Regions from separate parts of the Homo sapiens genome. Here regions 2, 3, 4, 5, 6 and 7 are each linked to region 1. Evidence: promoter capture Hi-C in 16 types of primary human blood cells and fetal thymus (Javierre and others, 2016). All regions are on one chromosome and are shown on one strand. The core of a region is centred on a gene start or on the middle of the fragment in contact, and the rest is flanking DNA. Distances in the headings are between cores, read along the strand shown. Region 1 holds the start of DAD1 (defender against cell death 1). Region 2 has its middle 48 kb from the start of OR4E1. Region 3 has its middle 150 kb from the start of OR4E1. Region 4 has its middle 170 kb from the start of OR4E1. Region 5 has its middle 6.8 kb from the start of PABPN1. Region 6 holds the start of BCL2L2 (BCL2 like 2). Region 7 has its middle 210 kb from the start of OR4E1.

Evidence for each region. Contacts are between HindIII fragments. The CHiCAGO score rates a contact against its expected background, and 5 or more counts as called.
Region 2: a fragment that was not itself captured here is called in contact with the fragment with the promoter of DAD1 in region 1 in 1 of 17 cell types (naive CD4 T cells); the score reaches 5.3 in naive CD4 T cells.
Region 3: a fragment that was not itself captured here is called in contact with the fragment with the promoter of DAD1 in region 1 in 6 of 17 cell types (fetal thymus, naive CD4 T cells, non-activated CD4 T cells and 3 more); the score reaches 7.3 in fetal thymus.
Region 4: a contact is called between a fragment that was not itself captured here and the fragment with the promoter of DAD1 in region 1, in 6 of 17 cell types (total CD4 T cells, non-activated CD4 T cells, naive CD4 T cells and 3 more). The highest score is 11.1, in total CD4 T cells.
Region 5: a fragment that was not itself captured here is called in contact with the fragment with the promoter of DAD1 in region 1 in 1 of 17 cell types (monocytes); the score reaches 5.3 in monocytes.
Region 6: the fragment with the promoter of BCL2L2 here is called in contact with the fragment with the promoter of DAD1 in region 1 in 1 of 17 cell types (total B cells); the score reaches 5.5 in total B cells.
Region 7: a fragment that was not itself captured here is called in contact with the fragment with the promoter of DAD1 in region 1 in 2 of 17 cell types (non-activated CD4 T cells and activated CD4 T cells); the score reaches 6.2 in non-activated CD4 T cells.

What each region holds. Positions count from the first base shown.
Region 1 is chr14:22,587,974-22,592,079 of GRCh38, forward strand. It overlaps DAD1 (defender against cell death 1), which reads right to left and starts at 1,251. Exons shown (of 3, transcript NM_001344.4): 1 at 974-1,251. The coding sequence starts at 1,184. RefSeq lists enhancers at 248-889, 890-1,531. The HindIII fragment of the contact is 712 bases long and covers 817-1,528 here.
Region 2 is chr14:21,720,154-21,724,259 of GRCh38, forward strand. It overlaps TRA and TRAV3. Among named protein-coding and RNA genes, the nearest start is that of OR4E1, 48 kb to the left of the region's middle. The HindIII fragment of the contact is 239 bases long and covers 2,196-2,434 here.
Region 3 is chr14:21,825,419-21,829,524 of GRCh38, forward strand. It overlaps TRA and TRAV10. Among named protein-coding and RNA genes, the nearest start is that of OR4E1, 150 kb to the left of the region's middle. The HindIII fragment of the contact is 3,707 bases long and covers 1-3,571 here.
Region 4 is chr14:21,845,796-21,849,901 of GRCh38, forward strand. It overlaps TRA and TRAV8-2. Among named protein-coding and RNA genes, the nearest start is that of OR4E1, 170 kb to the left of the region's middle. The HindIII fragment of the contact is 4,315 bases long and covers 1-3,969 here.
Region 5 is chr14:23,326,172-23,330,277 of GRCh38, forward strand. No RefSeq gene overlaps it. Among named protein-coding and RNA genes, the nearest start is that of PABPN1, 6.8 kb to the left of the region's middle. RefSeq lists a silencer at 2,022-2,111. The HindIII fragment of the contact is 1,983 bases long and covers 828-2,810 here.
Region 6 is chr14:23,304,673-23,308,778 of GRCh38, forward strand. BCL2L2 (BCL2 like 2) reads left to right here and starts at 2,161. Exons shown (of 4, transcript NM_004050.5): 1 at 2,161-2,222; 2 at 2,520-2,607; 3 at 3,088-3,527. The coding sequence starts at 3,096. It overlaps BCL2L2-PABPN1 (BCL2L2-PABPN1 readthrough), which reads left to right and starts at 2,161. Exons shown (of 8, transcript NM_001387346.1): 1 at 2,161-2,222; 2 at 2,520-2,607; 3 at 3,088-3,527. The coding sequence starts at 3,096. RefSeq lists an enhancer at 3,020-3,853. The HindIII fragment of the contact is 2,126 bases long and covers 1,408-3,533 here.
Region 7 is chr14:21,878,412-21,882,517 of GRCh38, forward strand. It overlaps TRA. Among named protein-coding and RNA genes, the nearest start is that of OR4E1, 210 kb to the left of the region's middle. The HindIII fragment of the contact is 5,895 bases long and covers 1-4,106 here.

The DNA of each region.
Region 1 (4,106 bases), core at 1-2,500:
GATCTGCCTACCTCGGCCTCCCAAAGTACTGGGATTACAGGCATGAGCCACTGTGCCAGGCCTCCAGACAATTCCAATGCTGTATTTTGTCTGTACCCCAACTAGACCATAAACTCTTTACGGATAAAGAACATGTGCCAAAGCTTTTACCATAATGCCTCATATTGGACTGAAAATACAACTGATGACCTGACTGATGATCACACTGAAAAGAAACCATGAATGCTGGCATGTTTTCAAAGTCAAAGTAGCAGGTGATACCAGTGATAGAGGCCACGCCTGTTTTCAGTATTCACTGAATCCCCGTTGGGCAAGAAAAGTCAGATTTTAACAAAAATTGATGGAGACTGTTCTCGCTAAATATAGCAGTCTACAAGGTTACCAAATCCTGGAATCAAAAGGAAAAATAAGGCTAAAATAGAGTTATGTGAACAAAAATTGGGTTCAGGACAGTGAAATAACAGCTTCCTCAACAAGAAAAAAAGTAGTAGCAGCTAAAAGGCAAAATCAAGTAAAGGATGATTCAACAAGAAAAGCACCAGTATTTATATTCTTTGCACTTTCATTGAAACGTTTCACCGGAGATTGGTAATGATTAGGCCAAGATGACAGAGATGATTCAAGGTTGGGTTTTTCATTTGAAAAGTCTACTAATTTTAGAGTTGTGTTAAACCTAAGTTAAAGTTGGAATAGGGTTTTCCCCGGACCAATATTAAGTGAAGTGGATCACCAAGTGGAGTAGCGGCACGAAGGTGGTTTCTTTAGACTTTTAAGTCCAACTCCTACGGAGCCGTTTGGTATTAGGCATATAATCTAAGCTTTCTGAGCCTCAATTTCCCCATTCACAACAAAAGGGCAATGCAGGCTCTTCTCATAACTTCAAGGGGCGGTGGTCTGATATAGAGTACTATGAAAACAAAAGCAGCACACCAAAGTAACACATTATTATTATGATCACTTATAGAACCATTACCCGCTAGGATGAAACTCCCCACACAAGAGATGAAGCCCGAGAGAAAAGAGTTGAAGGGGAAGGTCCCCACGAGGAGACAGTAACCGAACTGCAGCGCCCCGGTCAGCAGTATATACAGCAGGTACGCGTCCAGCAACTTCAGACGCTGCGGAGTGGAGCTCAAGTACTCTTCTAAGAACCGCGAAATGACAGACACTACCGACGCCGACATAACTGCACGCAAGGTACTCCGGTCCGCGCCCCAAACTCTTGGAGGACCCGTCGACCACACCGGATGTGCTGTTTGCGCATGCGCACCCTCGTGACCTAACTCCGCCCTCCCCGGTGTGCCAATTTGCGCAGGCGCTGAGGCCGGCCAGGGCGCGTAACAACTAATGCGCAGACGCGGACTGCATCAACAGACTCAACTACAACTCAGAAAAGTTAATGCGTCTGCGCAATGGCCCTATCAATGAGCTGGGGACGTGTACTCTTTCTGTTCTGTTTCCGCCCGTCAGCTCGGTGACGCCCACAGTTGCTCTGGCAACAAGACACACTGGGAGGAAGAGGGGAATAAGCTTTACTGGGGACCGCGTAGCTAACCAGAGGTATCCGGCTCTCTCTGGTCCTTCTGAGTCCTGGAAGATTTAACGGTTTGCATCTACTTTGAGGCAATGCCTGGCGTTCCTGGGGTTTGATACCAGCCTGACCCTAATTCTGTTAAGGGCGCTGTCTGCAGATGTCTGTCACAGATCATTGGAACAAGTCAAGTTCATCCGCAGTGAGACCCGGCGCGGCCAATCACTGCACAGGCCCCAGTTTAGACTTAATTACTTGGGGGAGTGAGTGGGTGTGGTGAGGGGCGGGAGGCAGGGAGGAAGCCTGACCTCAGCAGGGTTCTGAACTGGAACTCGGGATCTGGCCCTGCAATGCCAACATTTATTGGGCGCCTCCTTGGGGCCTGACGTTGTACTAACTTGTAGGGACTCTCACGTGAATCAGATATATTTGCAGCCTTAAAAGAGCTGGTGAAGGGAGGGACAGCTGTCGAATGTCGTGCAAAAAGCATATGGTCAAGTTTAGCAGCTCTCTTTCCGCAAGCTGGTATCTTGAACCTGGTGTAATATCCCGGGATGTCAGCGTCGAAAGGCCCGAAAGAGCATGCCTGGTTCAACCCTACTCTCTCCAACTCATTTTGCAGAAGAAACTGAAATGGTTTCAGGTTTTGTATTTTAACAAGTGGGATTATTTTGAGGGTTTTAACTGTTTTTTTTTTTTTTTTTGAGACGGAGCCTTGCTCTGTCGGCCAGGCTGGAGTGCAGTGTCGCGATCTCGGCCCACTGCAACCTCCGCCTCCCTAGTAGCTGGGACTACAGGCACGCGCCACCACGCCCGGCTAATTTTTGTATTTTCAGTAGAGACGGAGTTTCACCATTGTTAGCCAGGCTGGTCCCGAACTCCTGACCTTGTGATCCGCCAGCCTCGGCCTCCCAAAGTGCTGGGATTACAGGCATGAGCCACTGCACCCGGCCTGTTTTAACTTTTTTTAAGAAATTAAGTTCTGGCTTTCGTTGCCCTTTTAATTTCACGTGAATCCGACCTTCTAGACCCAGTTCATCTCACCTTTTAGCTGTAAGTTTTTCCACACATGACCAGGTACTTTATTTTCAGCTTCTTAATATTTTGAACTGTACGTGAGCAAAATTCCTAAAACAGCAGGTGAACAACAGCGTTCCTGCCTTTTCACTTTTTTTTTTTTTTTTTTTTGAGATGAAGTTTTGCTCTTGTCACCCAGGCTGGAGTGCAGTGAATGGTGCGATCTCGGCTCACTGCAACCTCCACCTCCTGGGTTCAAGCCATTCTCCTGCCTCAGCCTCCCGAGTAGCTGGGATTAGAGGCACCTGCCACCACGCCCGGCTAATTTTTGTATTTTTAGTAGAAACGGGGTTTCGCCATGTTGGCCAAGCTGATCTTGAACTCCTGACCTCAGGTGATCTGCCTGCTTCAGCCTCCCAAAGTGCTGGGATTATAGGAGTGAGCCACTGCGCCGGCCCCTTTTCACTTTTTATTTGCCTTTAGACTGGAAACTCTACACGCATTAACTAACGGATGTATTATCAGTGGTGATCAAAGCCTTACTTAAGTTCTAGAAAGAAGAGAAATAACCTAAGAAACCTTTAGAGTCTATTTGAATAGATAGATTTATATTCATACCCGTGGAGATTTGTGCAGCTATATGAACATAAGTTCAGCCTAAACCTATGTTGCTGAGAAAGAAAAAAAAAGAGTGGATAACAAGCTGGTTCTTATTTCAATATAATATGGCAGGAAGCATCAATTTCTCTGACAAGTTGAACCTTTCTCTCTGCCTCATCAACAAGTAGGAGGGTAGCTTCCTCACGAATATTCAACTTCAAACTTTACAGGCTAGGCTGATGCTTTTTAATCATTCAGGTGTGGATTCTTCAGGGAGTTTCTGTTCCATCAGCCAGGCTCCTTCCAGTGTTTTCTCCCTTATGTTTTGTCTGCCTTTGATCCATGTCAACTATCATCATTAAGATCTCCCCAGGAACTCTCACAGGAGAGAAGAAGAGATGAAAAACACCAAATGGACTTATTGAATGCATTTGTTTCTGAGACCTGCTAGTCACACCAATATACTACACTAGGGCTTTTCTGAACTACTTAAAACAGCAAGAAAAGGCCTACTTCTCTATTCGGTTTATGATTCTATAATCATTGAAACATTTTTAACTGATCTGTCAATAGGAAATTGCTAACACTAGTGTTGATTTCAATTAGTTTAAATCAGAATATTAATATAGTTTAAAATTCTTGTCCAGAGTAGTGGATAAGAGTGCAAGCTCTAGAATCAGACAGTCCTAGGTTTGAACCTTGATTCTGCTGTTTACTAGTTGTCTAATCTGGAACAAGTTACTCAGTCTGACAGTCTCATTTTCCTTTTCTATAAAACAGAAATAACAATACCTGGCTCATTGAAATTATGTGAGGATTAAATGAGATAATGTTAAGCATTAAGCTGTTAGCATAGTGTTTGGCAGACAGTAAATGTTCAGTAAATGTTTGCTCTTATTAACTATCATTAATCCTAGTAATTAACCATGTCTGCTTCTCCTAGTTCTCTGAATGATTA
Region 2 (4,106 bases), core at 1,065-3,564, 870 kb before region 1:
AAGGAGTAAAGGAAACTACCCTGAGGGGAGCACAGACATCTACCTGCAGCATTTTGGGCACATTCCCCATTGGCCCACCCATCTCATATTTGACTGACCTCTAAATGGATAGCACTACACCCAGTTTACTATGGTTTGGAGAAACAGTTCATGTCAACTTTCTGTGAATGTCATGGTTCTTTCAATAGAAATCGGAGAGTTGGACAGAATAGCTAAAAGGTGGTCCAGACTGGGTGCATATGGCAAATTGATAAGAAAGAGTCAAGTTTTCATCAAACTTTCTGTACATAAACCTGTACCAGCATAGCAGTGAGCAAGAGGTGCAGGAGAAGGTGGATGACCTTTGAGTGCTGGTGATTTAGAATTAATTATCCAGGAGTTGTTTTGGTTCAGTGGCACATACATGTGGGATCGGCATTTGGTATAATGCACTCAATGGACAATATGACCTCTAAAGTTCTATTTAACTTATTCAAGCTTGATTCTGTAATTTTATTATGATAAGGAAGCTGCTTTCCAATATTATATTGTCTTTAATAGAAAGCAAATTACCAAAATTGATATTCCCCCTATATGATTTAAAGGAATATGCCTTTGAAGTCGGTAAAATATGGGTTAAAAATCTTTGTTCTTTTTCTTAAGGATGATGAGCAAATTATTCAATTTTCCTCAACTGTGGTCCCCTCATCTCTAAAATGGGGCATCTTAGGAAGAGTAAATGTGACAAAGAATGTAAAGGGTTTAATGTTATGCTCACGGCGACATTTGATGAATAATTTCTTAATTAATCTCAGAAATCAAAGCAGATAAGCTGAATAGCTACTGAGGCTATGTTGTTCAATTTTGAAATTTCAGTCTAGGCCCATGGAATTCTTTGGGTGCTGCTGGTTACTTTGTGTGCAGTGCATTATGTGGAGGTCCCTGAATCCTTCTCTATCTGCTGAGCAGTTAAAAGGCAGTTCTTTAACTGGAAGCAAACACGAAGACTAAACTGTCCTAGTTTTGAGGAAGAATAAGAAGGAGGAGGAGGAGGAGGAGAAGGAGAAAATGAAGATGAAGAAGACGAGAAGAAGAAGAAGATTAAGAAGAAGATGATTAAGGATTCTGCAACAGTTCTGTCATTGCAAATGACTACCCATTTCTAACCACGACATAAATTCAGAGGAAAACTTTCCTCTTTCTATAGCTGAACATGCTTAATTAATAAATATGGTTAGTTCCTTCCATAAGTATCCTTTAGGGGGAGACCACTAAACAATCAACCATTTCTAGCACAAAATTAAAAATATCAGTCTCCTAAATATTTAGTTCACTTGAGGCTCTTGGCATTAATTATTAAATGGATGAAGGCAAACAATATCTCAGCCACTTGCACGATCTAGGCATAATCTTGTGTGCTGTATCTGTAGAGGTCAGAGGAAGTAGGGATTGGAAAAATAATCAAGGCACTGAAGTCTACACTAGACTACTGTTTTAGTTAAACTTATTTTATTTGCTTTTTTATGTTGATCATATCATATGTTGATATATGCCCATATATGCGTTTATAGGGCAGCAATAAACTCCAGTGTCAGGAGGCTGGACAGTCTCTGTTTTCCTCTTCAGGTCTATTCTATCCTGCTCTGTACTAAAGTCTATATTAGACTATTGTTTTAAACTTATTTTATTTGTCTTTTTATGTTTGTCAAAATGCAGTATAGCTATGCCCGTATATGCATTTGTAGGGCAGCAATAAACTCCAGCATCAGAGGGCTGGACATTTCTCCATTTTCCTCTTCAGGTCTATTATATCCTGCTCTGTACCCCAGGAGGCTGACTTCTATACGTTATGTGGACTGGTCTCCCATGTCCATTGGCATCTGGTTGGGTTTACCCCAGTGGGAGGTATTAGCAGGAGAGAGTGGTCAAGATATTTGCATTTTAGGATCCTTTCTTTCCTCTACTGAAGTTTACAGCTCCTGTTGGGTCTACCCAGAATATGGTCAAGAAGAGGTATTTAGACTGTAAAGGGTCATGTCGCCTTTGGCCTGTGATTAGTTACAGGTGTCCTGAGATTAGGGTAATTTCATCTTCTCCCGTCCCTTTGGGCCTAGGAGTGGTGAAATCTTCTGGCTGTTATTAGCCCCAGGTGCTTCACCTTCCCTTGTAGTTTTCCCTAAATTTTGCACATACACTTAAAAATATTCTTTTTGTTAAGCTTTTTTTCAATGATTTTCTCGAGGCGATTGCCAGGACCCTCAAAAAGACAACACTAACACTCATTTTAGGCTTGAGGCAGAGAGAGAAGAAAGAGAAGAAATTCACTATATGTTTCCATTTATGACAAGTCTCTCTGGAACTTGAAGATTATTGTTTAAAGACAGTTTACCAATTCCAAAGAAAAACATTATTATATGGCTAAGTTTTCAATGATTAAATATGAGATCTTTAGCAAAGCTTTTAGAAAGAATTATGTTCCACTTTTTTTCTGATTCAAAGCAAAGAGATTTTTCATCCTTTCCTCAGAATATATAGTGAACATTATTTGGACACTATTCAAAAGAAACAGAAGGCAAATCAGAGGAACAACTTCTTTATATTGATACATGCTTTTTACATTAAAATTAAAATCTATCAAAGAATCACTCAGTTGCTATTGTTGCCTTTTTTTAGTATAAAACTTTAGCATGCCATCCCTTTCCAATGAACCCCTTTTCCCCATCATAATACATCAAGTTTCGTTAACCATACATTTTTTGCTGAATACGTACTTCATTTGAAGTCTGTTTTAAGTAGGCTCTGCATGTGGAAAGTACCTGTTTTGCAACCCCTTCTCAGAGTTTCATTTTTTTGTTTTATATGTACTGTTTAATATGACAAATGCTCCAAAAATATTTATAACACCTATTCGTACTTTTCTCACTCTAAAAATGTTTAAAGAGAAGATTCAAGTTTCTTTTTGCCCTAAAGATCATTATGGGATGGGCTCCTAATAGGCCCAACGTGGAGAAAATTCTGAGTTATTTTTGGTCAAAGAGGTTTACACAGAAGCCAGCTCTGAATTACTTCTAACGAGAAGAGCAAGGCTCCTGTTTTCGCCTGTCATTTATCTTCTCTTGCCTTACTCTTTTCTCCTATTTTGCTTTTTCTTATCTCTCACTTTAAATTTTTCTCTCCCTCTTGATGCAAAGCTATATTTTCCTTTCTTTTTCTGTGCATTTTCCCATCCTATTTCCCTTCTTTCTGTCTCTACATTATCTTAAGAGAGCACAAATCATTTACAGCTTGATCCACTCAGCCTGAATCTTTTCCACTTTGATTCACAAACTTCTATTTCTTCTCCTTTGAACCCCTAATTTGCTCCCTATGTCCCTCATGGAGCGTGTAACCATCCAAAGGTTGGCCCAGGGATAAGGCCAGGAAGCACCAGCTGCTTGACAGTAAAGTCGCTGGTCCTACGTGTGGGCTCTAGGGGGCGATGCAGTGTAAGGTCTGTCCTGGGCATAGGCGGAGCGGCAGTCTTGCTCCTCACAGAGCTTTGAGGAGCTGGATCAAAATTGTGCTCCACAGAGAGAAGATACCGGTGTCGGGAAGCACCAGTGCCCTGAGGAAGGGCCATTTCCAAAAGCCCTGTGCTGACACAGGGTTGCTGGTTCCTCTTCAAGAGCCCACTCTCTGGGGTGGGGCCATATCTCCAGCAGAGGTGGGCTGGAAAGGACCCCCCCAATCCCGCCCGCCGTGAGCTTAGCTGGAGCCATGGCCTCTGCACCCATCTCGATGCTTGCGATGCTCTTCACATTGAGTGAGTAATATCCCCTTCCCATTTTCCACTCGCATGATCCACTTACATGCTCTCCAGCAGCTTCACTGATGCAGCATGATTAATTTACAGGTGGGCTGAGAGCTCAGTCAGTGGCTCAGCCGGAAGATCAGGTCAACGTTGCTGAAGGGAATCCTCTGACTGTGAAATGCACCTATTCAGTCTCTGGAAACCCTTATCTTTTTTGGTATGTTCAATACCCCAACCGAGGCCTCCAGTTCCTTCTGAAATACATCACAGGGGATAACCTGGTTAAAGGCAGCTATGGCTTTGAAGCTGAATTTAACAAGAGCCAAACCTCCTTCCA
Region 3 (4,106 bases), core at 468-2,967, 760 kb before region 1:
CTGAGAAACCCTTTGGTTAGTGTTAAAAAAAAAGAGAAGATGTTGAATACACAAGTCAACTTCTGGGAGCAGATCTCTGCAGAATAAAAATGAAAAAGCATCTGACGACCTTCTTGGTGATTTTGTGGCTTTATTTTTATAGTAAGTTAGTGGAGAGTTTTAGCAAAGTTAACATAGTAAGTCAAGGGAATATTTTCTTAGGATTTGGGGTGAAGATGTAGTCCACTGGGATAGGAGGAAGGGAGAAAATGGGACCATTTTCTGTTTCACTTGGGATTCATTGTGGGGAGTAAGGAAGGGATGCAAATTAGACAGTATTAATACTGGATGATGGATCTCTTGAATCTCACTTTTCTTTCTGAATAGGGGGGAATGGCAAAAACCAAGTGGAGCAGAGTCCTCAGTCCCTGATCATCCTGGAGGGAAAGAACTGCACTCTTCAATGCAATTATACAGTGAGCCCCTTCAGCAACTTAAGGTGGTATAAGCAAGATACGGGGAGAGGTCCTGTTTCCCTGACAATCATGACTTTCAGTGAGAACACAAAGTCGAACGGAAGATATACAGCAACTCTGGATGCAGACACAAAGCAAAGCTCTCTGCACATCACAGCCTCCCAGCTCAGCGATTCAGCCTCCTACATCTGTGTGGTGAGCGCACTGTGCTCCACAGGCACTTGAAGCCAGTATGCAAACCTGCACCTGGAGGTTATCAAGGAGGCATAGGAGTTAGAGTAGACCGTTATTTTTTATGCAGAATATGATTTCACTAGTGAATATTTATCTCTCCGACATGATTTGATTTGAGCTTGAGCCTAAAGTTCTACTTAGGCTCAAGTAGAATACATGTCCTCAAGCGAGGATAAAGACATTCTCACTCAACACACAAAGTTAATTGCTACATCTGGGTGTTCCCAAGGGCAAGACAGTCTGTCATGCTGTGTTACTATTGCTGAAGTAGATGACAGTGTTGTTTGGAAGGGAGAGACTAGCTTGGTTTTTGATCTGGACACCTACCAGCAGAATGTCAACTAAGTGAAAGAGCAACAAGTTTATGTGGCTGATGGAAATTTTTTTTTTTTTTTTTTTTTTTTTTTGAGATGGAGTCTCACTCAGTCGCCCAGGCTGGAGTGCAGTGGCGTGATTTCGGCTCACTGCAAGCTCCACCTCCCGGGTTCATGCCATTCTCCTGCTTCAGCCTCCTGAGTAGCTGGGACTACAGGCGCCCACCACCACGCCCGGCTAATTTTTTTGTATTTTTAGTAGAGATGGGGTTTCACCGTGTTAGCCAGGATGGTCTCGATCTCCTGACCTCGTGATCCACCCATCTTGGCCTCCCAAAGTGCTGGGATTACAGGCGTGAGCCACTGCTCCTGGCCGGAAATATCTTGAGAAGTTTCCTTCCCCTGAAAGACATTCAGTTGTCATTTCATGGCTATTCAAGTTCTCAGAAAGCATCCTGTGAGAATAAATCTGCTCTTCCCATTTAGCTATGCTCCAGATCAAGGCTTTTGTCCAGGTGCTGCATCAACTCTTTATTATCTTCCATCACTGCTCCTTTAGAGGACACTGGAAGGCCAGGGGATCCTGGCAGACACAGTCACTCTCAGGCAGCAGAACAACTGTGCCAGGCTTTTCAACCATCAGTGTTCTAGAAAAGAGACTTAGGGACAGAATGCCTACCTGCAATTGTGAACTCTGGTTTTCACAACTTAGCTGTGAAGTTCTTTTTGGGACAATTAGAGAAATGTACATATAATTTGAGAATTAGATGAGAAAAGTACTTATTTAAAAGGCAGATATCAACTGTAAAAAAATGGGAAGAATATATACTAAGATATTAAAAATGGTAATCCTTGTATTGTGGGAATATAATGTTTTTACTTTTTATCTTTCCTTGTCTTCTGTACTTTTAATTTTCTATAGTTCTCGGATTTTTCTTCTGTCAAAATAAAGATTATTAAAAAATAACAAATGTCTTAAAAAATTTAAAGGAATGCATCTCATCTGTCACTATCAACTCACAGGAATTGATATTTAAAGATGATCACACATTTCAGGATATTGTTGAATAAGATTGATTTGTTATGCTTATGAGCACTGCAAGTAAGTTCATTTCCAAGTTCAGTGAATTGATAATTTGTGAATAAATGAAGCCAGGACCTGGACTGTTCTTTGTAACTAGTCTGGAGATAGCTCAAGTGTCAAGACATCAAAATGCCTTGACTTCTGGAGCAAAAAGTAAACCTAGATATATTCAGTAATCAGATATTTTTTCCTGTCCTGTATCTCCTTTCAAGTCTTTAGAGTGAAGAAATTAAAGTTCAGATTGCTGCTACAGCAGACTTGTGTGAGTAATCATAAACTAATTGAGGAAAAAGATAAAATACATGAAAATGGAATCAATAGGTAAAATTCCAAGTACGTGGACAAATAAGTTTTAAAGGTATTCTCAGGAGGAGATTACTGTGGGACAGAAAAGATAGGAGAAAGTATCATGGGGAATAGCAAATTTAGTTAGGTCTTGAAGGAGAGACACACATTGAATTTGTTCATTACACAATTATTTATTAAACAAATAATGAGGCCAGGTGCCGTGGCTCATGCTTGTAATCCCAGCACTTTGGGAGGCCAAGGTGGGCGAATCACTTGAAGTCAGGCATTCGAGACCAGCCTGGCCAACATGAAGAAACCCTGTCTCTACTAAAAATACAAAAATTAGCCAGGCATGGTGGCATGCACCTGTAATCCCAGCTACTAGGGAGGCTGAGGCAGGAGAATATCTTGAACCCAGGAGGCGGAGGTTGCAGTGAGCTGTGATTGCACATCTGCACTCCAGCCTGGGCGATGGAATGAGAGTCTGTCTCAAACAAAACAAAACGAAATAAAAAACAAATAATAAGTGACAGGTGTTTTTGTAGGTAGAAGGAGTAGGGTAATAAACAAAATAGATAAATGCAGACACAAAAGACCTTCCATTACGAGGCTTGAGTCTATGTTTGTCTATTGCGTTCACTTTCTTTTACAGGAATATCTTGGGAAGTTTGCATTCCAATATAGGCATTTCCTTGCTTGCTTTAGTTTAGTTTAGTTTGCAGGTTTCATATGGTGAGTAAAAGGCACAGGCATTGAAATGCTCTATCTATCACTTACTAAATTGCATTACTCTGGACAAAATTACATAACTTCAGAGCACCTACGCGCCATCAATGGTAATTACACGTACATCACATGGTCATAAGGATTGAATTAAGTTAAGTGAATTTAATTAAATGATTGAATTGCATTGGTAGAAAATAATTTTTCAACTAATGGTAGTTATTCTTGGACATAAATGATAAAACAAAGGTAATTTAAAATAAGACAATAAGAAACTTTAAGTATAGATTAAGGTTTGCCTTTCCACTCTTCTTCTGTTGATTATATTCTTTTACTACAGTTATGGCCGAGAGTCACCCTTTATTTCACATTGGCCTTATTCCATTCAATTATTTGAACTGACAGTATTGGCTTTCTTGTTTGTTTGTTTGTTTGTTTGTTTTTATCTCATAGGTTTTCTGCACAGAAAATGAAGCTTTCTTGCTTCCGGTGTAATTTAATGTAAATTCTATGATGAATCCACATGAGCTTTATGGAGCAGGACTCCGATATAACACCATTATACTGACCTACAGTGCCAATAACTAGATCCATACCCAGGAGCTCATTTAACAGAGCTCTGCATTGGAAAGGAGAGAAAGTAACCTTTCTAGGTTTGGGGGAGAAATCCTTTTTAGTTATTCAATTTATAACTTGTACATACATGGTAGATGCCCAGGAAGTATTACAGAAGAAAAAAGGAAAGAGAAAAATCTAAGGGACAAATGCTAGATGCAGCTGACTGAGAATCAGCACCTGGTTCTGCCAGGGTCCTTTTCCATGCTACCTCTTCAGAGATCAGGAGGAGCTGTGTGATCTGTGCACCGGGGAGTAAATCTTGTTTCTGGCTGGTTGGGGAGACTTTCAGCTTCCTGCAACAAAGAACTATGAATGTTAACTCAGAGAAACCAGAGATTTGGCTTGATAGTGTTTGAGGGCTCCCAGACCCCAGCCAGAGACCTCACTGAG
Region 4 (4,106 bases), core at 562-3,061, 740 kb before region 1:
GATTCTCATAATTTGGCACAATATATCAGTCTATTCTGAACACTGACAGTTGGAATAGTACTCTCACTTTCTCTTTTTAAATATAAGTTATCTAAATTATTTTCTCCTAGGTTCACAAATATTAAACTTGTTGACCTGAAATTAGGAAGTCTTTTCCACACTTTCCACTTGACAAAGAAAATTCTTGCCTTTAATCGTTTGCTTTGATTAATTAATGATATGTGATCCAGGCTGACTTTAAGTATGAGTCTCTGATCTAATTTATTTTTTAAAGAGTCAACTAAAGGAATAATCTCTTTCACCCACTGTAATGCTCACATCCAGCTGCACAGGGCCATATGAAGCTCAGCCCAGACTGAGACAACTGATCACCACCCCTCTTCTTGATGAACGACTTTACTAATATAGAGTGTCTCAATGGTTTTCCAAAGTCTACAACGTTGTCTTCTGTGACTAATTTCTCAGGGAAGTAAATTACTCTTCTATTTCTACATAATTCTCATTTCTCATGTATTTAAAATTAAAACCATATACTCTACGGAAGATGACGTCATCACAGATTCGGGAAGAAAGAAACACTTTCTGTTGGTTTTGATATCACATCTCTCAAATGAGAAGGAAACAGTTCACTTCCTTGGATCTGTGGTTCCACCTGTGCCCTCCAGGGGGCGACGTTGCACTAAGGAGGCATCTGTGTTCATTGCCGACCATCCTCATCCACTGAGCCTCCTCCCTGCAGCTGGCTGATGTAGCTCACTGATGTCTGTGTAGATAGGGAGCTGTGACGAGAGCAAGAGGTCAGAACACATCCAGACTCCTTAAGAGAAAGCCTTTCTGTTTTGGAAACTTTTCAAAGCCAGGGACTTGTCCAGCCCAACCTCCCCATTGCTCCTAGCTCCCGAGGCTCAGGACCCCTGGCTTCTGTCCTCCCTGCTCAGGGTCCTGCAGCGTTGCCTCTGCTCAGCCATGCTCCTGCTGCTCGTCCCAGTGCTCGAGGTGATTTTTACCCTGGGTGAGTAACATTCCATTCTTTTTCCTCCTTTTGTAAATGTGACTGTGTTGTAATTGCCTCTAAGTAGACTTCTTAGCGAAGTCAGCGCTGCTTTTGCTTACACAGCATTGGTGTTGCAGGAGGAACCAGAGCCCAGTCGGTGACCCAGCTTGACAGCCACGTCTCTGTCTCTGAAGGAACCCCGGTGCTGCTGAGGTGCAACTACTCATCTTCTTATTCACCGTCTCTCTTCTGGTATGTGCAACACCCCAACAAAGGACTCCAGCTTCTCCTGAAGTACACATCAGCGGCCACCCTGGTTAAAGGCATCAACGGTTTTGAGGCTGAATTTAAGAAGAGTGAAACCTCCTTCCACCTGACGAAACCCTCAGCCCATATGAGCGACGCGGCTGAGTACTTCTGTGTTGTGAGTGACACAGTGCTTGAGACTGCAGGAGAGCTGAACACAAGCCTCCTGAGATGCTGAGACTTTCTGTGACTCAAGAACTCGACCTTGAAGTCTGTTTTATAATATTAAATAGCAATTCCAAGTTTCTGATGCTTATTGATGTGTGCTGTATCTTTTTCATCTATTTATTTTTAAACTATCTATGACTTTAAATTTAAAGTGTGTTTCCTTTAGGTAGCTTTATATATAAGGTCTTTCTATCCACTATGTCAATCTCTGGTTTTGCACTGGCTAGTTTAGATAATTATAATTTAATGTATATTGATGAAATTGGATTTTAGTATACTATGTTATTATTGTGTTTCTGTTCCTCCCTTATTTTTTGTTGTTCTTTTTTTTTGCTGACACTTTTTGGATTATTTGAACATTTTTAACACTATTTTAATCTATGGACTTCTTTGGTTATATTTCCATATTTTTTGAGTGGTTGCTCTGGAGATTATAATACATATGACTAACTCTCCAGGGTCTTCTGTGATGTTGTACCTCTTTATGTAAAATGTAGAAATTTTTGTATAATATGTCTCTTTATTATACAATAATAATTGTCTCTTCAACAAACACTGAAGTTTGTTGTAGTCGTTCATGTATATCAAAGCTACCTATATTGGAAAGCTCACCATATAATGGTACAATTTTTGTTTTAAATAATTGTATGGACCGTATAAAACTCACTAGGAATAATAATATTTCGTATTTAACAGCTATTTACTAACTCTGGTATCCTTCCTTTGTTTCTAAAGTAAGTTTTCCTCTGACACCAGGAGATGTGTTTGAACTGATGTCATTCCCTTCAAACTTAAAAAACTCCCTTTAACATTTTTTCTAGAGTAGGTTTGCTGGTAATGGTATTTTTTAGTCATTTGTTATCTGAAGATGTCTTTATTCTTAATTTGCCCTTTATTTGTGGAAGATATTTTTACTGGGTCTGTAATTCTGTGCCAACCATTTTCCCCCCTCACTTTAAAGATACTGTTTCATTGTCTGCTGGTCTCCATGTTCTGGTTAGAAATCTATGGTCATTCAAGTAATTGTTCCCCAATGATATTAATATGTTGTTTTTCTCTAGCTGCTTCATATATATGCTATTTGTACACACACATACACGCAAGTAAAATCATATCATCTTTTGTTGTCCTCAGTATAATTATGATGTTTACATGTGGTTCCCTTTAATTTGTTCCTGTTTGGGGCTTAAATTCATAAGTTTGTCTTTCTTTGAATTTGGTAAGTTTTTGGCCATTCTTCTTTCAAATATGTTTTCTGGCGCAATCTCTTTCTCTTCTCCTTCTAGGACTCCATTAGTTACAACTTAGACTTTAGGACACTTTCCCACTAGCTCTCCATAGCTCTATTTTGTTTTCTTTCAATTTTTTTCTTGATTTTAAGGTCTGCCTCTACTCACTAGATCCCTGTAGCATTACATACCCCATGTTGTGACACCCAAATTTCTATCTAGATTTGTCAAATGTCTCCTGAGGGGAGCAAAGTCAAAATTAGTTAGGTTAGATAACCTATACTGGTCTATTTTCAAGTTTGTTATTCTTTTCTCTATCACTTTCATTTTGCTATTGAGCCCTTACTGTGACATTTTGATTTTGGATATTGTATTTCTCAGTTCTAAAATCTCCTTTTTTTTTTTTTTTTTTTTTTTTTTTGAGACGGAGTCTTGCCCTGTCACCCAGGCTGGAGTGCAATGGCATGATCTCGGCTCAGTGCAACCTCCGCTTCCCGGGTTCAAGCCATTTTCCTGTCTCAGCCTCTTGAGTACCTGGGATTACAGTTGCGTGCCACCACCCCTGGGTTTTTTTTTTTTTTTTTGGTATCTTTAGTACAGATGGGGTTTCAACGCGTTGGCCAGGCTGGTCTTGAACTCTTGGCCTCGTGATGCGCCTGCCTCGGCCTCCCAGAGTGCTGGGATTACCCATGAGCCACCATGCCTGGGCTAAATTTTCCCTTTTTTAACTTTGTGGTACATAATCAAAGAGCTACTTTAACGTCTTTTTCTATTACTTCTAGCATTTTAGTCATCTTGACCTTTCATCTGTTGATCTTTTACTTAAATATTAGTCCACTTTTCTGATCCTTTGTATGTCCAATAATTTTGAAATGCATATTAAACATTTTAAATATTAAGGGTGTAGACTCTGTTTTCTTCTTCTCCTTCTCATCCTTATTCTTCTTTACAAAGCATTCCTCTGAAGAATTTTGATGCTTTTGCTTTAGCAGGAAATCAACCTAGTTTGGTTCATACTGTAAATTTTCTCTTCCCTTTTGTGGAATTTGGTAGCTCAAAATCTCAGTTCAGTTCTCTAATCATTTGCAATGTTGGTTTGGATTTATCCAAGTCATGTGTAGCTTAGGGATTAGTGTGAAACCTGTTTGGGTGGCTCAAATATCAGGTCAGCCCTGAGCTCTCTGCTACATTGGTTTTTTTGTCCTGCATTGGTGCCACTCAGGAGGTAGTCTGAGACTGAAATAGTGGTTCAAATATCAGTTGAATAACCCAAGCTTTGTTGATCTGGTTTGAGTCAGTCCCAGGTACATGGAGCTTTGGGATTAGCCTGAGACTTGAGCTGTTTTCCATTTCTTCCTTGGGGTCTGTCTTTTCTAGCCTGGTCCACAGAGGCAGAAAGATTGTGTCTC
Region 5 (4,106 bases), core at 569-3,068, 740 kb after region 1:
CCTTTTGGGTGTAAGGATTATTTATCTTCCTATTCTCTCTTAGATCGCAGATGGCTATTAATTCTGCCTTGTGGTAGAAGTACTGGTGTTGTGGAAGGGAGGTTGCCACTTGTGAATTAAGGAGTAGGAATTACATTACAACTAGCAGGAACATTATGTGTTTAGTTGAGAATGATAGGTTTTCTGGATAACATGTAACCCTGATTGGCATTTGAGAGAGAAATAAGCCTGGGAAAGTAAAAGAATAGCTGAATTGGGCCGGGCATGGTGGCTCACTGCTACAATCCCAGGACTTTGGGAGGCTGAGGTGGGCAGATCACGAGGTCAGGAGATCAAGACCATCTTGGCTAACATGGCGAAACCCCACCTCTACTAAAAATACAGAAAATTAGCCTGACGAGGTGGCGGGTGCCTGTGGTCCCAGCTACTCGGGAGGCTGAGCCAGGAGAATGGCGTGAACCCAGGAGGTGGAGCTTGCAGTGAGCCAAGTTCACACCACTGCACTCCAGCCTGGGTGACAGAGTGAAACTGTCTCAAAATAAAAAAAGGAATAGCCGAATTACTGACCTAATGGCGCTTTTGTGTGCTCCTGATACAGCTTACGTGCAAATGAACTATCCATGCCTGCAGCCCTAGAGCTTTGGATTGGGGTCTGGGTAACCTTGTCTTTGGGGTCTCGCTATGTTGACCAAGCAATCTTCCCATCTTAGCCTCCCAAAGTATTGGGATTACAAGTGTGAACCACTGCACCCAGCTACCTTTTCTACCTCAAGGTGGGCCCAAGAAATGCAGAAGACAAAATACACTTAGCTAAGAGACAATCGGAAAGCTTGTTTTTCCAACCATGCAGTAACCATTTAATGTGTCCAGCTAACTTATATTAATTGGATCATTTATTTTTTTGAGATGGTCTTGCTTTGTCACCCAGGCTGGAGTGCAGTGGCTCACTGCAGCCTCAACCTCCCGGGCTCAAGTGATCCTCCCACCTCAGTGTCCTACATAGCTGTGACTATAGGTGCCTGCCTTCACACTTGGCTAATTTTTTGTAGAGACAGTTTTGCTGTGTTGCCCAGGCTGTCCCAAACTCCTGAGCTCAAGCAGTCCTCCTGGCTTGGCCTTCCTATAGGCGTGAGCCACAGCTCCTGGCCAGGATTAGTTTATTAGGACTTCACAACTGGCTTTCACTGTTTTCATATCTAAATTTTGTCTTGGGCATCCTAATTTCTCCATTTTTTATTCCAGTGTCAGATTGGTCTTAAAACTTGAACACTACATCACTAGCCAGGTTGAACCTTCAGACTTCATTACCTATAGAATTTCTTAGTATTTCAACCTTACTATTTTTTCATTTACTTCTCAGGATGTTTTGTTCACAATTGCCTCTGACCTGGATGCTCTTCAAAAATCATATGTTAAAGAAATGGCTCTGTGGCCGGGCGCAGTGGCTCACACCTGCAGTCTCAGCACTTTGGGAGGCAGAGGTGGGCGGATCACTTGAGGTCAGGAGTTTGAGACCAGCCTGGCCAACATGGTGAAATCCCGTCTCTACTAAAAATACAAAAATTAGCCAGGTGTGGTGGCATGCACCTGTAGTCCCAGCTACTCTGGAGGCTAAGGCAGGAGAATCGTTTGAACATAGGAGGTGGAGATTGAGGTGAGCTGAGACTCAGCCACTGCACTTCCAGCCTGGGTGACAGAGCGAGACTCTGTCTCAAAACAAACAAAACAAAAAACTCTGTTATATCTGAAGCCTTAACCCACCTCTCAAATTGCAGTATTTTCTAAAATCTCATGTCAGTGTTATCCACCACATATTTTAGGATTTGGTCATTTATTCTACTTTCTGTTATGGGTTAGGCATTTGAGGTCTATCTTTTCTCCTAACTAGATTCACCTAAAATAGTGCCGTGATCTCTGTGGCTTCTGCAGAGGCTGATTAGTGAGGGTCTGGATAGTGTTCAATATAAACTTTTTACTGGAAGAATGAAACAGCCTAAGTGACTTGTTGCTGTTAATGCTGTGATGGTCTCATCTGTCCACCAGGGGGCACTAAATGGCTGGCTCTAAAAGATCCCCATAAATTGTTGGGTATTGGAGGGTGAATCATGTTTTGACCCTTCTCTGGTTTAGTTTTCCATATTCAGTCAATTCTACCATATCTTGTCTGTTCTCTCTATTCCTACTTTCACTGCTTGAGTAACTCCCCATCATCATTGCAGGGGTCCTGGCAGATGTATTGGCTTCAAATTTTTTTTTGAAAAATAAAAATTCCTAAAAAAAGTACTTTAAAAGATAGGGTCTCGCTATGTTGGCCAAGTTGATCTTGAACTCTTGGCCTCAAGCAATCCTCCTGCCTCGGCCTCCCAAAGTGCTAGGTTTATAGGCGTAAGCTACCATGCTCAGCCTCCAAACTTCTTATTGCCAAAAAAAGCCCTCTATGATGCCACCAATAAGTACAAAGTCCAAACACAAGCATGGAACTACAACCTTTTTCAATCTGATCCTGATTACATTTCTCTTCCAGATCCTGCCCTACACCTGATGTACTATGCATTGTAGTTGTTATTTATTTTCATGTATCCCTCATGCTGTTCCCTCTAGCCTGCTATGCTCATTCCAACTCTTCTATGAAAATCACGCATATCCTTCCAAGTGTAAGCCAGGTACAACAGACATGAAGCCTTTCCTGATTTCCAAGTCAGAAGTAATCACTCCTGCAGTCAGGACAAACTGTTCCTATCCCTGTTTAATATTTACTTTGTGGTTTTATAATGAAACTAACTACATTTCTGTTTTCCCACTAGAATGCAAGCTTCTTCTTTTTTTTTTTTTTTTTTTTTTTTTTTTTTTTGAGACGGAGTCTCGCTCTGTCGCCCAGGCTGGCCTGCGGACTGCAGTGGCGGGATCTCGGCTCACTGCAAGCTCCGCTTCCCGGGTTCACGCCATTCTCCTGCCTCAGCCTCCCGAGTAGCTGGGACTACAGGCGCCCGCCACCGCGCCCGGCTAATTTTTTGTATTTTTAGTAGAGACGGGGTTTCACCTTGTTAGCCAGGATGGTCTCGATCTCCTGACCTCATGATCCACCCGCCTCGGCCTCCCAAAGTGCTGGGATTACAGGCGTGAGCCACCGCGCCCGGCCGAATGCAAGCTTCTTGAGGGCATCAATTGTGACTTTGTGTCTGCCTCACAGGGCCTGCCATTTAGTAGGTGCCCAAAAGTTGCTTATTCACCCTGGGCTTGCCTTTCCTGTCCTGGAGAAGGCGGTAACAACAATAGTGTTGCCTTTTACCTGGAGCTGGTAGTTTTCTTCCTCTTTTTTTTTTTTTTTCCTGAGACGGAGTTTCACTCTGTCGCCCAAGCTGGAGTGCAGTGGTGCCATCTCAGCTCACTGCAACCTCCACCTCCCAGGTTCAAGCAATTCTCCTGCCTCAGCCTCCTGAGTAGCTAGGATTACAGGCATGCGCCACATGCCTGGCTAATTTTTTGTATTTTTAGTAGAGACGGGGTTTCAACATGTTGGTCAGGCTGGTCTCGATCTCCTGATCTCGTGGTTAACCCACCTCGGCCTCCCAAAGTGCTGGGATTACAAGCGTGAGCCACCATGCCCGGCCTTTAGTTTTATTCTTATAAGAGTCAGACTATTTTACTTAAAAGAGACTAGGTTTAGAGGAAGAAGCATGGAAAGAAAGTTACTTTCCTCGGGCAAGCTTGGTTATTTTTGGTGGATGATTTCTGTCAGTCACTCCTGATCGGCTCTCTGTTAACTGAGGGATAGAAATGAGCCCAATCTCACTGGAGTTCCATGGGAAGAAAGAGACTGGGAGAGCCTGTGTATAAAACCTGTCTGGGGTGAGGGTCTGTGAGTCAGAGATCCTTAGAGGGCCTTTGGATGATGCAAAATAAACCGAGGCAAGCCAGTGCTTTTTAAGGTAGGATTTGCCCAATCCGACGTTGGCAATGGAGAAAAGAAACAGTTGGTGGGTTTTTACAATAATATTGCTGCTTTCCTTGTTTTTATGTATGGTTAGAATGAGCAGCCTTTCTCAAATTATGATCACATTTTATTATTATTATTATTTTTTGAGATGGAATCTTGCTCTGTCGCC
Region 6 (4,106 bases), core at 911-3,410, 720 kb after region 1:
ACAATATATACAATGTATATATTGTATATGCATATACAATATAATATATATAATGCATATAAATTAATGTCTAATAAATCATACATTAATTTATGTTACAATCAAGCTGGCCCAGGAGTTTGAGATCAGTCTGGGCAACATAATGAGATCCCTATCTCTATAAAAAATGAATTTAACCAAGCATGGTGCAGTACACCTCTAGTCCCAGCTACCAGGGAGGCTGAAGTGGGAAGATTGCTTGAGCCTAGACGGTGGAAGCTGAAGTGAACTGTGCTTGTACCACTGCACTCCAGTTTAGGCCATGGAGTGAGAACCTTGTATCACAAACAAACAAATAAACCAGGAGTGCAAATGAAGACTTGGACTAGGTTATTCTCTAAAGAAGAGGGCAACCTTGCTGGTGGCAGCCAGAATGATCAGGCTAAGAGCAAAAATGAAATGAGGATGGTTGAAAGGATACAGCCATAAAGGAGTGTAATAGGCTGTGTGTTTAGAATAGAGGAGAGAATTGAGTATGGACTTGTAAATGGTGTGGATTCAGACTATGAGAACCATATTGACTATGTGAAGGCAAGAGGTGATCTTGAAGCGATAGTGTCAAAGTTACAGCATGAGATGGCTGTGCTAGCTTCTTACATATCAGCCTATGGCTTTGGGAAAATCACTTAACCTCTCCAAACCTCAATTTCCTCATTCATAGAATGAGGATAAAACAGCATAAGGACTGGTGAGAGGAAAAAATACACATGTAAAAAAAGCACAGCATCTAATAACTCCTCAAAATATGTTAGTTTTTACCTTTTTTTTTTTTTGAGATAGAGTCTCGTTCTATCACCCAGTCTGGAGTGCAGTGGCATGATCTCAGCCTCCTGGGTTCAAGTGATTCTCATGCCTCAGCCTCCTGAGCAGCTGGGATTACAGGCTGGCTAATTTTTGTATTTTACGTCTGGCTAATTTTTGTATTTTTAGTAGAGATGGGGTTTTGCCATGTTGGTCAGGCTGGTCTCGAACTCCTGGCCTCAAGTGATCCACCCGCCTTGGCCTCCCAAAGTGTTGGGATTACAGGTATGAGCCACCGAACCCAGCTAGTTGTTACTGTTATTGCTGCAGAAAAGACCTTGCTTCTCCAGTGACCATAAGGGAAGATGGTAATACAGAGGCTTGGATTGGAGGTAGAAGCAAAGGGAGCTAGCAGAATAGGAGAATTAGGTTGCCTCTTTCTGGCCTTTGGTTGGGGCACTCTTTAAAAAAGTGCCAGATCCAAGAGCCCAGGGGGCTGGCTGTGAGTGCCCTCATGTGGATCAGCTATGGTCAGACTGCTTCACGCCTGTGACCTGCCCTGTATAAATATACTGCCATGTATAAATAATGGCCCCATATATATGTAATCTGGAAGGATAAACATCAAGCTTAACACTGGCAACCTGCAGGGAGGGAAGTGGAATTGGGTGTGTATGTGTGTGTGTGTTTGAGAACCTGTATTTTATTACTCCGCACGTCTTTATTGTTTGATTTTTTTCATAATGAGAATGAGTTTGTGTGTTGGGTAAAAAAAAGAAAAAGAAAAAAACCCCACTAAAATCAATCTAATTACAAAAGAAGATGAATTAAAGAAAAGTACCGAGAGAAACTGCTTGTGATCCAAGTCCTGGCTCCCTAATGCCTGGCTGAAGCCCAGCCCACAAAGAGAACACTGGGTTAAAGGTCCTGGAGAAAAGATGGGAAAGGTTTGGTGTCTATGTGGTGTCTGCTAGCCCCATAAGGGTAAGGCACCTGGTAGACGGTTCCCAGCTTAATGGGAACTGCTCCTGTTTTCCAGGCACACAGTTCAGGGCTGGAAAAGTTCAACAAGTGCATGGAACATCGGAAACCTCCTGAAAATGCTAAATTTGCCCCGAGATGTCCCGAAGTCCGGCATATTTCTCTGGGCAGCCTAGAGGCTCAGGAGCCCAGCCCAGCCCAGCCCACCGTGCCCTCTCAGCCAGCCCTTCTTTGCCTTCAGCAGCCCTCCCTCTTCCTGAGTAGTGGCCCTTTGCAGGCCTGCGTCCCAGCCCCGCCCCTCTCTCTGGACGCATCTCTGGGCCCCATCATCACCCGGCGCCGGGCCCTCCCTCTGCCCCCCCCTTTCTCCTCCCTCCTTCCTTCCCTCCCTTCCTCCCTCTCTCCCTCCCTCCCAGCTCCTGCACCAGGAAACGGCCCGGATCCCGGCAGCGGCCTGACCCGTGAGATCCCTAACCTGGCAGGCGGGCGGGGTTGGAGACTGGCTGAGGTGGGGGTAAGGGAGGAGCTGGGCCTTTGGGCTGCACTAGGGGGAACCGGGAATAGAGATGGTGTCGGCAGGAAGCCCTTGGCCTTGGGTTTCCCGGGAGGACAGTCATTAAACATGGATTCGGCCACACAGCTGGTAGAGCGTTGGGGGCAGGGGCCTAGGCCCAGAGCTGCAACCCTAGCCCTTCCCAGGCCAGAACCTGATCCCTGGCCTTCCCCTCCTGGTTCTGATCTCCCCCTCCCCTTTCCAGGGCTCCACGCTGGCCAGGAGGATGAAAGGCCCCAGCTGGGGGCTCCTTGCCACCAGTGCTGTGTCTTAAGAGCTGCCATCCCGGCTGGGTGAGTGTCTCCTTCCTTTCTCTGTCTGGAGTAACCCATTGCGTCTCCCACCTTTCTCTTCAGCCCATCTGCTCCCCCTCATCTTGTGTCTCTGCCAACATCTTTACATCTTGCATTTGGGGAGGTCCTAAGACCCTTCCTCTAGCCAAGAAGGTGTGGACTAAGGAGACCCGGGGGTGGGGGTGTTGTAGGGGTGTCATTGAGCTGACGTTGTCTTATTGTGAAAAGAATCTAAAGTATCCTAAACAGAAAATTTACTTGTTTTACATTTAATTTGGCATATTAGGAATGTAATGGCCAGCCACTCACAGCCTAGTCTCATATCATGACTTAATTCCCTTGTTCTTGCCTCTCCCTGTCCAGTGAGTCCTGAGCATTTCCTCTCTCCTCCTCATCTCACTGGGTTGGTCAAACCAGAAGTGCTCCTTCTGATTCTCTCTTCATATATTCATGCCAGTCTTTCATCCTTGCCTCTTATAGCCGCCCGGATGGCGACCCCAGCCTCGGCCCCAGACACACGGGCTCTGGTGGCAGACTTTGTAGGTTATAAGCTGAGGCAGAAGGGTTATGTCTGTGGAGCTGGCCCCGGGGAGGGCCCAGCAGCTGACCCGCTGCACCAAGCCATGCGGGCAGCTGGAGATGAGTTCGAGACCCGCTTCCGGCGCACCTTCTCTGATCTGGCGGCTCAGCTGCATGTGACCCCAGGCTCAGCCCAACAACGCTTCACCCAGGTCTCCGATGAACTTTTTCAAGGGGGCCCCAACTGGGGCCGCCTTGTAGCCTTCTTTGTCTTTGGGGCTGCACTGTGTGCTGAGAGTGTCAACAAGGAGATGGAACCACTGGTGGGACAAGTGCAGGAGTGGATGGTGGCCTACCTGGAGACGCAGCTGGCTGACTGGATCCACAGCAGTGGGGGCTGGGTAAGAAGCTTCTCAATTGCCGCTCTGCACATCCTTCTGCAAAGCTGGTCTCCAGGGGGAAGATGGGGGCTCTGATTGGAGGCTGAGGCAGCTATGTTGGGAATGAGGTACGGGGCTGAGTCTCCCCGTCTGGATGGAATTAGATTGAGAGATGCCTGGACTCTGCACTCCAGGGCTGCCATGCAGTCAACACTGGATGGGCTCATGGTCCCAAGCAGAGGACAGAATACACACCCAAGGAGTGCCTGCAGGGGAATGTTGTCAGGGACTTTTTACATCTGAGTCATGGCGTGGGAGGTGGGGAGGACCAGGGATGGGTGGTGGTCAGGCAAGCCTTGGCAAAGGATGCTAGTTCTGAGCAGAATTTTTCGCCAAGGAAAGGATGGAATTCACTGGAGGCAGAGTGGGCAGATGAACCAGTCTCTCAGGGTGGGGGTGCACCTGGGGGGATCAGAGGGGCTTGCAGGGAGAAGAGCTTTGGCCAGAGAGGAGCTGGGTATGGGGTAGTGCTCGCAGTGGATGGAACTGGAACTCTTCCTCTCCTCTTCTCTCCACTCTTTCCTCTCCTGATATCCCTTT
Region 7 (4,106 bases), core at 969-3,468, 710 kb before region 1:
CTAAAAGCTGTCAGCCATGAATGAATGTCATCTGTCTGTGCTTCTCTGTTTAAACAGGGGTGAACAGACTACATACGCCGGAGCAGAGTCCTTCATTCCTGAGTATCCAGGAGGGAATGCATGCCATTCTTAACTGTTTATGTGTAGGGGGAACTTTCTTTATAACCTCTGTCTCCAAACAGAAGTGAAGAATAATGCACCATCTCTCATATGTGAAGAAGCTGAATTTATATGGAATTATGTTTCCTTTTGTCATTATTGAAATTTCATTCCTCAATGTAGACCATACAGATCCTGGGCCTGCTTGCCCAGAGTCCTTCCACTCCTTTACTGTTTGCTCTGAGAGGTCACAGTCTCTGAGTCCATGGAGCAAAGTTTCCCCTGGTTGTACACTTAGCAGCATTTAACTTATATTTTCATAATCTTTAAATGATGTTTGCTGTATCTGTGTATCATCTACTCCATAATTTACTTAATTTAACATTAAATTGATTTCTCTATTAAATAGATGCCAAAAATATGTAAAATATTGTCCTTACTTTAATAGATACTATCAGTGGGACCACATATATGTTATAAAATGTGCATTTGATGTGCAAGATATTTTTTCCTAATACAAATTAAAATAATGTTACATATATAACAGTCAGAAAGACCATCTGTGTTCTGCCTAATATGACCTCCTGTATCAATCGCACTTTAGAAAATACATTTCCAGCTCATGCCCCTCATTTGATAGATGAAAAAAAGCAGGCTCCACAGGCATGGCTTCACTTTACTCAAAGCATGTGTTGCAGTGAAATGGAAGCCTGGAGTAGAAGCCAGGCATTCTGGCCCCTTGTCAGTTGCTTTTTCCATGAAAGATGAAAAGCGGGATTCGGTGTTTGAGAAAAGGAGTTGTGTGTTGTAATTTTGAACTAAATTACATTTTTATTACTTATATGTATATATAAAGATATAAAATGATATATAAAGACATAAAACACCCAGAAAAATAGAACACACCTATAATTTCATAATCAAGAAATTATAACTATTATCCTGTAAAAAATTTTGGTATACATATGTAGCTATTTTTTCTATAAAAGTGGTTTGCAATATATCCAGTATTTATTACCATGCTTGTTTTTCTCAACATTATGTTTAGGTGTTTTCATCCCAGGAAGCTTATATTGAAGGCACAGTTTTATTTTATTTTCTTTTATTTTCAACCTTTATTTTAGATTCAGGGGGTAGTACATGTGCAGATTTGTTACCTGAGCATATTGCATGATGCTGAGGTTTGGTGTATAAATGATCCCATCACCCAGGTACTGAGCATAATACCAACAGTTATTTTCTCAGTCCTTGCCCCTTTTCTCCTTCCCCCTCTAGTAATGCTCAGTATCTACATGTAGTCTTTATGTCCATGTGCACTCAATGTTTAGCTCCCACGTATCAATGAGAATATATGGTATTTGGCTTTCTGTTTCTGCATTGATTTGCTTAGGAAAATGATCTCTAGCTGCATCCATGCTGTTGCAAAGGATATGATTTCATTCCTTTTTATGGCTGCATAGTATTCCACGGTATTTATGTGTCACATTTTCTTTATCCAATCCACTTTTGATGTGCACCCAGAGGGCATAATTTTAAGTGATTGCCTAGTTTCCATTATATAGATATATTTTAAAAAATTTATCACTTTTGGTATTATTTCCTCTTATACAGTGTTATAGATAATGCTTCTTAAAAACATAATTAAATTTGTAATTTTAATGGAAATAGAGTTGCTTGAATAAGGGAGAACATATAACACTAAATGCCTAATGTTCCTGAAGATATATTTCACCAAAGTGTAATTTCAACAGCAGCACATGGTGATGCTGATTTTTCAATACTTTATCAATTATGACCATTATTATCTTAAAGTAGCTTCCATTTTATTAATAAACACTTTAGCAATGTTTTAGTTTTCTTTTAAAGTGTGAGTTTATATATTTTATTATTAAAAATGTGATTTAAAAACAGAGTCCATCACATAGAATATTCTTTCATACAATAAGATTTTTTAAAAGGTTTGAAGAATACTGTTCTGGCCCACATTACCTTCTATTAGGCTGGTGCAAATGTAATTGTGGCTTTGCCATTACTTTCAATGGCAAAAACCGCGATTATTTTTGCACCAACCTACTAACTGGTCTCTTTTTCCTCAAGGCAATCTATTCTCCATGCTTTTGCTACTCAGAGTCGGGGCCAGCACTGTCTGGACTTGTGCAGATGCTCAGCCTCCACCCAAGGCTGACTGAATTTGAATCTGCATTTCGTTAACATTCCCAGGTGATTCTATCACTTCAAAGTTTGAGAAGCACCCATCTGATGGGTTCCCAGAACGATTTTTTAAAGTATAAATAAAGAGATGTCTCTAATTGGCAAACATGCTTCAATGGCTTTCTATTGCTCCTGGAATAAAATGCAAATTTAGGCTGTGGCATACAAAGATCTGTATCATTCAAACCTCCCCTGTCCCTTCAGCTTTAAACTCTTTTTTCCTGGCTTTCTATGCAGCAAAAACACTGACCTCCTTTCAGATTTCTGAACTTGCCATGTCCTTTCCACATTTAGTCTAACTCTCTCAATCATCTGCAGTGCTCTTACCCTAAATCTTGGTGAGCCTGACTCATTTTCATTCCTCAGGTCTCAGCTCAAATACCACTGCTATAGAGAAAACCTGCTGACTTCTGCTGATCATCCTGACTAATGTGGCCATCATGGCTTTTCCCCTAACTCTATTACAACACCCTTGTTATATTTCATTACGGTAATAATCATAATGTGCAGTTATATTGTTGGTCTACGTGTTTATTGTCAATGTGTTTATTGTCTATATCTCCACCTAGGATACAGGCTTTACGAGGTCAGAGGTATTGTTTGTTTAGTGGACAGCTTTATTCTTAGTGCTTAGAATAATGACTGGCCTATAATAGTCAGTCAAAAAAATATTCACTAAATGATAAATGGATGGATGTTATTTGGCCCTCCTCTTTCCTTTTTTCCTTCCTCTCAGTCTCACCCTAGCAACTTTGACCTCTTTTTGTGTTCTCTCTGCTTCATTATGTGGGGCAGCTCAGTTCTTTCTCACCCTTGCTCCCAGACTCAAAACCCAGCCTTTCTGTGCTCAGTGAACTCTGGTCAAATAGTTAGATCCATTCAGGGTCTCAGCCTTTCCTCACTAAAGTGACCTCACTTTATCAGATGTGATCTGAAGCACTTAGTCAACTCTAAAGGCTAGTAACACATGATGAAATATCTAAATGAAGAAAAAAACACTTAAAACATTTTAGAAAGTATAAAAGTAACTTCTCAAGTCCAATAATTATGAGCTGAAGTCAAAGTTATAATTCAAATTACTGTAAGAGTAAATGCCCCTCAGGAAACAAATTCAAATAAATAGCCTTGGTAGACGTGTTGTAGATCAGATTTTTAAAAGATCTGGTTTAAAGATATTTACGTTCAAAGGACTGGTTCATAATTACCCTGCTTTTGACCATCTGTGTAGTGGCTATTAGGCTTCTCAAAAGATTAATAGTCATTTGAGTTGGTAACACTAATTTCCCAGAAGGAGTCTTTATTTCATTAAAGTATATTATAAAATTGCTCAAGCATTTTATTGGAAGTGATGGTTAATTACCTATGGGGCTATATACATTACATCCTTCAAAAAAAGGTCTCTTCCAGACTAGTTTGGAGAAACTTATCTTTCTCACATGTAGTTCAAGCCTTTACTATAGTAGAGAAGGGTGTTATCAGTTCTTGGTTTTTTTTCCCTCTTCCTGCAAGCTAATAAGTGTGTTGTTTCATCCAGGTTTTCAGTAAAGACATGAGACTCCTTAGTCAGAGACAAAGGATTTTGTTACTTATGGCACAGCAAACAGCCTAAACATTAGTAAGTTCACTTCAGTTACTCTTTCCTTAAGTCCCCAAAAGATGATACAGTGAGTGCTGATGAGTAGTTTGCATGCAGTGGTGCTGTGTCATAGATGAGGAACTCTGAGCCTGGGAAATTTATAGCAACAGTAAACAGTAAGCCAGCTTGCTCTTTGTCGTACAGGGAGTCATTAACTCAT